2 separate regions of the Homo sapiens genome follow, and region 2 is linked to region 1. The links are contacts of gene promoters, found by promoter capture Hi-C in human tissues and cell types (Jung and others, 2019). All regions are on one chromosome and are shown on one strand. The core of a region is centred on a gene start or on the middle of the fragment in contact, and the rest is flanking DNA. Distances in the headings are between cores, read along the strand shown. Region 1 holds the start of PEBP1 (phosphatidylethanolamine binding protein 1). Region 2 overlaps SUDS3 (SIN3A corepressor complex component SDS3).

What was found. Contacts are between HindIII fragments. The study calls those that stand out against the background at their distance.
Region 2: a fragment that was not itself captured here is called in contact with the fragment with the promoter of PEBP1 in region 1 in 1 of the 25 tissues and cell types used here (H1 embryonic stem cells).

What each region holds. Positions count from the first base shown.
Region 1 is chr12:118,133,645-118,138,007 of GRCh38, forward strand. PEBP1 (phosphatidylethanolamine binding protein 1) reads left to right here and starts at 2,480. Exons shown (of 4, transcript NM_002567.4): 1 at 2,480-2,700. The coding sequence starts at 2,566. LOC101928274 (a long non-coding RNA gene) reads right to left here and starts at 2,348. Exons shown (of 4, transcript XR_945409.4): 1 at 2,213-2,348. RefSeq lists an enhancer at 2,275-2,775 and a silencer at 2,768-2,857. The HindIII fragment of the contact is 8,253 bases long and covers 1-4,363 here.
Region 2 is chr12:118,394,705-118,399,334 of GRCh38, forward strand. All of the region lies in intron 6 of SUDS3 (SIN3A corepressor complex component SDS3), which reads left to right. Among named protein-coding and RNA genes, the nearest start is that of SUDS3, 20 kb to the left of the region's middle. The HindIII fragment of the contact is 8,830 bases long and covers 1-4,630 here.

The DNA.
Region 1 (4,363 bases), core at 1,230-3,729:
TTTTTTGACCTAATTAATAAAAGTTCCCATGTAATAAAATTTTCCAAAAACAGTCTTTCAAGTTTTTAAAGATATATGTATAAGGAAGTTCATTTCAGTGATATTTGTAAAAGGAAAACAATGAACAAAACAGAGTACATCAAGAGGCTTGTTGAATAAATGATGGTGCATCTAGAGAAGTCATTAAAATGTTGAAGACTTTTTTTATTTTGCTTTATTTTTGTAGAGATAGGGTCTCACTCTGTCGCCCAGGCTGGAGTGCAGTGGCACAATCACGGCTCACTGCAGCCTCAAACTCCCAGGCTCAAGTGATCCTCCTGCCTCAGCCTTGGTAGTAGCTGTGACTACCGGCACATCCCTCCATACCGGGCTAATTTTTGTATTTTGTTGTAGAGATGGGGTTTCACCATGTTGTCCCGGCTGGTCTCAAACTCCTGGACTCAAGTGATCCTCCTGCCTCAGCCTCCCAAAGTGCTAGGATTAGAGGCCTCAGCAACCGCACCTGGCCTGACGACCTATTTTTGATATGACTATTTTATAATGGTAGGATATAATGCAATCTTTTGGTGAATAAACAACAAAATCATCTATACTCATATTATTTTTAAATAGGAAAGATATACCCTAAATGATTACTGACGTTTATAACAAAGTAGTGGGATAGAAGGGGATTTCTACTTCTTTGGGTTTTTTTCTTTGATTTTCTACAATGAACTCGTATTATTTCCTAGTAAGAATGTAAATCAAGAGACAACTTTTTATTCCATGGGAGGAATTATCAATGTCAAGAGTCAAAACAGATAAGAACTGTTAAATAGTGCTTATTGGCTGGGCGCGGTGGCTTATTGCCTGTAATCCCAGCAGTTTGGGAGGCTGAGGCAGGCGAATCATGAGGTCAGGAGTTCGAGACCAGCCTGGCCAACATGGTGAAACTCTGTCTCTACTAAAAATACAAAAATTAGCTGGGCGCGGTGCCGCCTGCCTGTAATCCCAGCTACTCGGGAGGCTGAGACAGGAGAATTGCTTGAACCCGGGAGGCAGAGGTTGCAGTGAGCTGAGATCACGCCACTGCACTCCAGCCTGGGCGACAGAGCAAGACTCCGTCTCAAAAAAAAAAAAAAAAAATAGTGCTTATCATATTCAGCAAAAAGCAAGCAGCTTGTGGTCACAGTAAGAGCAGTTTTGGTATGAATAAATATGGTTTAAAATTGTTTTTCAAAAAACAAACATAAAAAACCAAAACCCAAACATTTCTCAGGAATTTTGTGAGGACGAATTTTGTGTGTGGAGAAAACGGACAAATACATTTCCCCATATATTTAAATGCTCAAAAGTTCACTCAGGTGCTCTCACCAGGCAATTACTATGACAAGTGATCACGTGCGAAAATACAGAGAATCTGGCTCGTTTTAAAGTGCAGGAGAAAAGCAAGGCCTTACTGTTTCTGAATTTGCTGTGTGTGTGTGTGTGTGTGTGTGTGTGTGTGTGTGTGTGTATGAGAAGATGGGATCTGGCTCTGAAGCGCAGACAGGAGTGCAGTGGCAAGATCGTAGCTCACCGCGGCCTCAAACTCCTAGATTCAAGAAGTGATCGGCCGGGCGTGGTGGTTCACGCCTGTAATCCCAGCACTTTGAGAGGCCGAGGTCAGGAGATCAAGATCATCGTGGCTAACACGGTGAAATCCCGTCTCTACTAAAAATACAAAAAATTAGCCGGGCGTGGTGGCGGGCGCCTGTAGTCACAGCTACTCGGGAGGCTGAAGCAGGAGAATGGCGTGAACCCGGGAGGCGCAGCTTGCAGTGAGCCGAGATCACGCCACTGCACTCCAGCCTGGTCAACACAGAGAGACTCCGTCTCAAAAAAAAAAAAAAAAAAAAGTGATCCTCCCGCCCCAGCCTCCGGAGTAGCTAGGACTACAAGCATGCACCACTGTGTCTGGCTTTTTTCTTTTTTTCTTTTTTTTTAAGTTTTCTGTAAAGACGGGGTCTTGCTACCTTGTCCAGGATGGTCTCAAACTCCTGGGCTCAAGCGATCTTCCTGCTTTGGCCTCCCAAAGTGCTGGGAATACAGGCATGAGCCACCGCGACAGGCCATGTTGCTGAATTTGGAAAGTGGAGCAAAGAATCATGCAAAAAATTAAGAAAACCAAAACGCAACCAAGGCGAATTCAATTGCATTTTTTTTTCCCAGCGACACTTTCTGAGACACGAACCTCTCTCTTCGGCGAACCTATTCCAGGGCGCCCTTCATTTTCATTTCTTGAAACAACAGCCTTGCAGGCCGAGCCGCTGTTCCCGAGAACTCGGCAGCCACAGGGAGCAGGTTGCATGGACCCAGGAGCGCGAGAGGCCCTGCTCTGCCAGCTTCGGCCAATCAGAGGCCAGGGAGCGGTGGGCGTGACGTGGGGCGGTGCGCGGGGCTGGGCGGCGGCTGAGGCGCGTGCTCTCGCGTGGTCGCTGGGTCTGCGTCTTCCCGAGCCAGTGTGCTGAGCTCTCCGCGTCGCCTCTGTCGCCCGCGCCTGGCCTACCGCGGCACTCCCGGCTGCACGCTCTGCTTGGCCTCGCCATGCCGGTGGACCTCAGCAAGTGGTCCGGGCCCTTGAGCCTGCAAGAAGTGGACGAGCAGCCGCAGCACCCGCTGCATGTCACCTACGCCGGGGCGGCGGTGGACGAGCTGGGCAAAGTGCTGACGCCCACCCAGGTACACCGGGCGGCGGGCGTGCAGCGAGCGGCACGGCGCGGAGGCCTGTGCCGGCCTCCTGGGTGGGACCCAGCGGAGACAGGGCCAGGGGCGGTGGGGAGGTTCAGCCTGCGTGTGTCGAGGCCCCCCCAGGCCAGAGGTCCCGGGGTCCATGTCCCATGCCTGGGGGCCACCCCGAGCACCGGGAACCCGGCCTGTGGCGTGGCCAGGCAGGTTCGGCCTGCGGCAGAAATTCATTCACTTTTCCCGGGCTTCAGACCCAAGAGGGACCTAGGTTCGGAAACAGGCCGGATCCCCCTCTCCCCCCACAGGCCAGGGCGCTGGAGAGGGACGTCGCCGGGACAGAGTAGGCTGTGGCTGCCCGGACGCCCCCAGAGCTTCCCCTAGGGCCTCAGCATTTTAGGCCTGGTTTTGGAGGGCTGAAGCCTCACCCGAGAGCCTGTGACGCATTATGTAACTGGCGATGAGCGCGCCGGCCGATTTCTCCTTTGTTAAATGGGTCGAGAGCGTCCAGCCGGTACGCTGGAGGGCAACGGTTTAGTTTTGGTCTTTGACCTCCCACGCCCACGGCTGGGGCTGCCGAAAGTGAAGAAACTAGATTTGCAGACGCCACTGCTAGTTGGTTATGAAGCTCCGGGCAACAGCGTAAAATAAACTGCCCCGACCTTACATTGTTTTGGATGTTCACAGAATTTAATTTTTTTGGATGTTTAAATATGTAGTGCCCATCTAACACAGCCTCCCTTTTCCTGCTCCCTGCCCGCCTCTCATCACCTTGGCTTTCTCCTTTTCTTTGCACTTTGAAACGTACAGTTAATGCAGATTTCACTTCAGCAGGCTCCAGGTAACCTCCTGATCACCAAATCCAGAAACGCTGTGATTCCGGACAGACAATGTAAGGGTGTCGTTGAGAGGGGACTCAGTGCCAGGGTTGGAATCCCAGCCTTATCTGTTTCTCTTAATAGTGTGCTGGGATACTAGCCCCATGGTGTTGTTGGGACTGAAATAATATACAGCCTGGGCAACATAGCAAGACCCCAACTCTACAAAAAAAAATTGGCCAGGTGTGATGGTGTGAGCATGTAGTTCCCAGCTGCTCAGGAGGCTGAGGTGGGAGGATCGATCGATTGAGCGCTGGAGGTTGAGGCTACAGTGAGCCTTGATAGCGTCACTACACTCCGGCCTGAGTGACAGAAGGAGACCTGGTCTCAAATAAAATACATAACGTATATAAAACTCCAGCTCCTGGCTCTTACAGTCAATACAGGGTCATTGATTTTATTAAAAATCTATTCTGTTTTGTCTTTGGAGAGTCTGAGATCAAAGAAAGAGTATTGGTTTCTTCAGCATTTCTTGTTTTTGAGACAGAGTCTCACTCTGTCGCCCAGGCTGGAGTGCAGTGGGGTGATCTTGGCCGCCTGCAGCCTCTGCCTCCCCAGCTCAAGTGATCCTCCCACCTCAGCCTCCCGAGTAGCTGGGATTACAGATTCCCGCCACCATGCCCAGCTAATTTTTGTAGTTTTAGTAGAGGCAGGTTTCACCGTGTTGGCCAGGCTGGTCTCAAACCCCTGACCTCAAGTGATCCTCTCTCCTAGGCCTCCCAAAGTGCTGGGATTACAGGCGTGAGCCACCACACCCAGCCAGTTTCTTCAGCATTTCTGAC
Region 2 (4,630 bases), core at 631-3,130, 260 kb after region 1:
AGACAGGGTCTCACTCCAGTTGCCAAGGGTGGAGTGCAATGGTGCCATCGGGGCTCACTGCAGCTCGACTTCCCAGGCTCAGGTGATTCTCCCACCTCAGCCTCCTGAGTAGCTGGGACTACAGGCATGTGCCACCTTACCTGGCTCATTTTTGTACTTTTTGTAGAGATAGGGTTTTGCCATGTTGCGTAGCTGGTCTTGAATTCCAAGGCTCAAGCAATCTGCCTGCCTTGGTCTCCCAAAGTGCTGGGATTACAGGAGTGAGCTACTACATCTGGCTTTTTTACTCATTTTAAAACCCTAAGATATATGTGGTTGTACTACTATAGGAGCAGTAAGTTTCACGCGTATGCAATAGATGCTAATGAGTAGCTATTTGGGTGTCAAGACAAGAGGAAGAGGCCCCACACAAATATCTGGAGAGGGAGAATGGAAGAGGTGACCTGGATTTTGGGCAGAGTGGGCCTTTCCTCAAGATGTTCTTTCCTGGTGCTGGCATTGTGGAATCAGGGTTTTTTTTTTTTTTTTTTTTTTTTTTTAAGACGGAGTCTCGCTTTGTCCCCCAGGCTGGAGTGCAGTGGCGCGATCTCGGCTCACTGCAAGCTCCGCCTCCCGGGTTCACGCCATTCTCCTGCCTCAACCTCCTGAGTAGCTGGGACTACAGGCACCCACCACCACGCCTAGCTAATGTTTTTGTATTTTTAGTAGTGATGGGGTTTCACTGTGTTAGCCAGGATGGTCTCGATCTCCTGACCTCGTGATCTGCCCTCCTCAGCCTCCCAAAGTGCTGGGATTACAGGTGTGAACCACCACGCCCGGCCAGAATCAGGTCTTTTAATGTGCTTGAGGGTGCAGAGAGGAAGGCTCGACTGGCTCACTGTTTATTGCTCTCCCTTCATAATGGCCAACTTTGGCTTTAAAGAGATTGGTCCCTTTATTCCTACTCTGATTTGGCCTCCAAAGACCTAACATTAATTCTTGTGGATTGATTGATTGATTGATTTTGAGACGTAGTCTAGCTCTGTCACCCAGGCTGAAGTGCAGTGCCACGGTCTTGGCTCACTGTACCCTCTGCCTCCTGGGTTCAAGCGATTCTCCTGCCTCAGCCTCCCGAGTAGCTGGGACTACAGGTGCGTGCCACCATGCCTGACTAATTTTTATACTTTTTAGTAGAGACGGGGTTTCACCTTGTTGGCCAGGCTGGTCTCGAACTCCTGACCTCAGGTGATCTGCCCAAAGTGCTGGGATTACAGACATGAACCACCGTGCCCAGCCCTAACATTCATTCTTATTCCCCACCCCCACAAACCTTAGGCGCTCTTCTGTTACCACCGCAGCATTAATTTGTGTCAACATTGATGGCGCCCTCCATCCTGCTAGAGAAGGGCATGATGTCTGCTAGGATTGCTCTGGGCTGCTAGTCTAGCCTATGGGTCCCTGCCCTGGTTTGGAGGTAATTGCCAATCTGCTATAATGTTTACTCTGCAGTGGATTTTCTTTCTGCCAGTTATATCCCATTTCTTTTTAAAGAAAATTTCCTTTTTAAATTTAAAGTACATTTAATTTTTTGAGACGGGGTCTTGCTCTGCCACCCAGGTTGGAGTGCAGTGGCACGATCTCAGCTCACTGCAACCTCTGCCTCCTGTGCTCAAATGATCCACCTCAGCCTCCCAAGTAGCTGGGACTACAGGCACCTGCCACCTAGCCCAGCTAGTTTTTTGTATTTTTCTGTAGAGATGGGGTTTTGCTCTGTTGCCCAGGCTGGTCTTGAACTCCTGGGCTCAAGCAATCCACCCTCCTTGGCCCCCCCAAAGTGCTGGCATTACAGGCGTCAGCCATTGCACCCAGCCTTATATCCCATTTTTTAAGGATGACCCTTTGAATCACTGCAATTAATATTTTTCCCAATAGATAAATATGAGCTTGTTTTAATAGTTAAAGTATGTTGCATTGAAGCTTTTCCTGCCGTTGTACACTATAGGCAGGTATGCTGTTGGAAATGAATGAATGGGCCTAGAGAAGTGCACAGCAAAAGGCCAGCCAGTAAACTGGTAATTGTATGTAAATTGCAGGTAATTAATTTATCAAGAATATCTCTCCAGAGGGACTGTGCTATAATGACTCTACCACCTAGCATTGCTTCAACCTGAGCTCCCATTTTTTAGATGTCGGAATCTGTGCTCCCTGTGGTGAGGGGTGAGGGGGTTCCTGTATCCATCAGGTTTCCTAGTGAGTAGAACAGGAGGATTTGCACTATTAAAAGTCATATTGCAGGGTGGTTTGGAGAGGAGTTATATGCCTAGTCTTGTTGCTTGTTTGATGTTTTTTCTCACATAACGCTCTCTCAAGTCTGCTTTAAGTGCTTGATGTTTAATGATAAAATAGTATCTCCACTGAAGCAAACCTATGAGGAGACCTCTGGATCAGAGAGGGTTTCTAATTTCAGCCAGTTCGAGTTTTTTTATGGTTGGTGCATGATGTCGGAGAGGAAGCCTGACTGAATCCCTGCTCAGGTGTCTTCTCTGGGGTTGTCACACCCCAGGGTCTGAGCTTCAGTTCTGGAAGTTTGATTTTTGTCAGTGTAGCCAGATTGAGCGTCTTGGGACTCTTAGAGTCCCAGTCATAGGAGATTGATGGTAAAACTCAGGATACCAGCTCGTTGCTTACAGTGAGAAATAGAACTTCCAGGTGCACTCAGACCTGGGTTGTCAGACTCCATCCTTCTATGAAAAATCCACCGTAAAAGCCAACTAGACCAACCTGGCGTTGGAGCAAGGTGACTTAAGTGGATAATCTTACTGTGTCTGTTGGGGCTGTGATACATGTTGATCATGGCCTCAAATCATGTTTTCCACCTGGGCTATTGGCCAGGACTGCTCCCTTCTGTCTCCTCTTTCCTAGATGGAGATGGAGACATGCTGATAAGTTTTAGGGGCTTCTCCAGAGTCTCTTCCTTCTGCAAAGCAGTCTTTTGGATAAAATTAATCAGATTGTTGCTGTGACCAGGCTAATAAAATAGATTTTTTTTTTTTTACCATTTCATAAGAATTTGATTGTATTTTTTGGTTTGTAAGTGATACAGTTATGATTTTCAGAGTTCAGTGGCCGTGATTGGCCTTTACTTGGCTTACATCCATCATGCATTGTCCACCCTCCCCACTCCCCAGTCTTGGCAGCCTGTGGAGCAGAGCACACTCAGCCACTCTCTTTGGCAGACAGAACATTCCATAATGTTCATGGGCTATGTGCTTTTCCTTTGGTGCTCTCTTGGGTTGGGTGAGCTCCCTTTACACTTTATTTTCCAAATTAGGTGTCAGTGTTGCACAGCCTCACAGTTGACATCAGCTGCTTTCGACTATGTAACTTTTTTTCAGCTCTTTGTGCCTTGAGTTTTAAAAAGGATCTTTGTATAGTTTTTTCCTGCCTGAAAATATAATAATAAAAACTAGCATTGATAGAACTCCCGTTACGCCAGGCACTGTGCTAAGATTTCACACATATCATCACATGTAACCCTCACGGCGCACTGTGGGGGAGGCATTATTGATACTTCTATTCTCTAGATGAGGACACGTGAGACATACAGCACTTACAAACCTGTGTTAGGTCACACAGCCGTTGCAGGGATTCAAACGCACGTTTGTGTGACACTCCAGCTCTTAACTGTGGTGCTGTGTCACTGGCCAGTAACTAACTGGAGAAGGGTGGCACCTCAGCATAGGATAGGAGATTTCTTTTAGGGAGAAGCCTTCACCACTTGTTTCTGGTGTGTGTGTGTGTGTGTTTATACTTCCAAGTACACTTTTATAAATATTCATTAGGGCTTTGGTTCTTATTTTACCTCTATTCCATTCATAGGAAAAAAATATTTAATACTGCCCATTTCTCTTAAGAGCAACATGCAGAAGCCTTTTTTTTTTTTTTTTTTTCAAATTTTCTGTGGCACATGTATGACATGCTCTAAGATCCTGCACACTGCTTGGTAGAATTCCCTGAAGCTGCCCTGCCTGTTCTGCTGATTGTGTGCATAATCACAAATTAACTTCCTCCCATGATCAGACTTGACCTCATCTACCCGTTCTGCACAAAACATTATGCACCCCTACTGTGCCAGACTATTGCTAGGTGTTGGGGTGGAATTCAGACATCCAAAGGGGTAGGTAATGACCTGTACACCGTGGCACTTGGTCTACTTGAGGTTTGTATAGATGCTCTGGTTACTTGGAGGATGGAATGAGTTTCTGCCTTTGAAACCTGTTACAGAAGGGAGAGGGTATTAAACTGACTTTCAACGGGTATTATGTAGGAGTTTGCTGGGCAGAAAAGAGGAAGCTAGACAGAGGAGAGCCATGCAAAGGCTTGAAGGCGTAAAGTCTGGTGCCCTTGGGTAACAGGATAGCTAAAGGCTTGCACACGGTGTAAGCGTGAATGAAGAAGAAGGGAGGAAGACCAGAAATGAGGCCTGGCTTATATCCTGTGGAGAGTGGTGAGCCATTGAAATATTTAGTAAGAAGATGGCTGGGTGTGGTGACTCAGCCTGTAATCCCAGCACTTTGAGAGGCTGAGGAGGGCGGATCACTTGAGGTCAGGAGTTTGAGACCAGCCTGGTCAATATGGTGAAACCCTGATT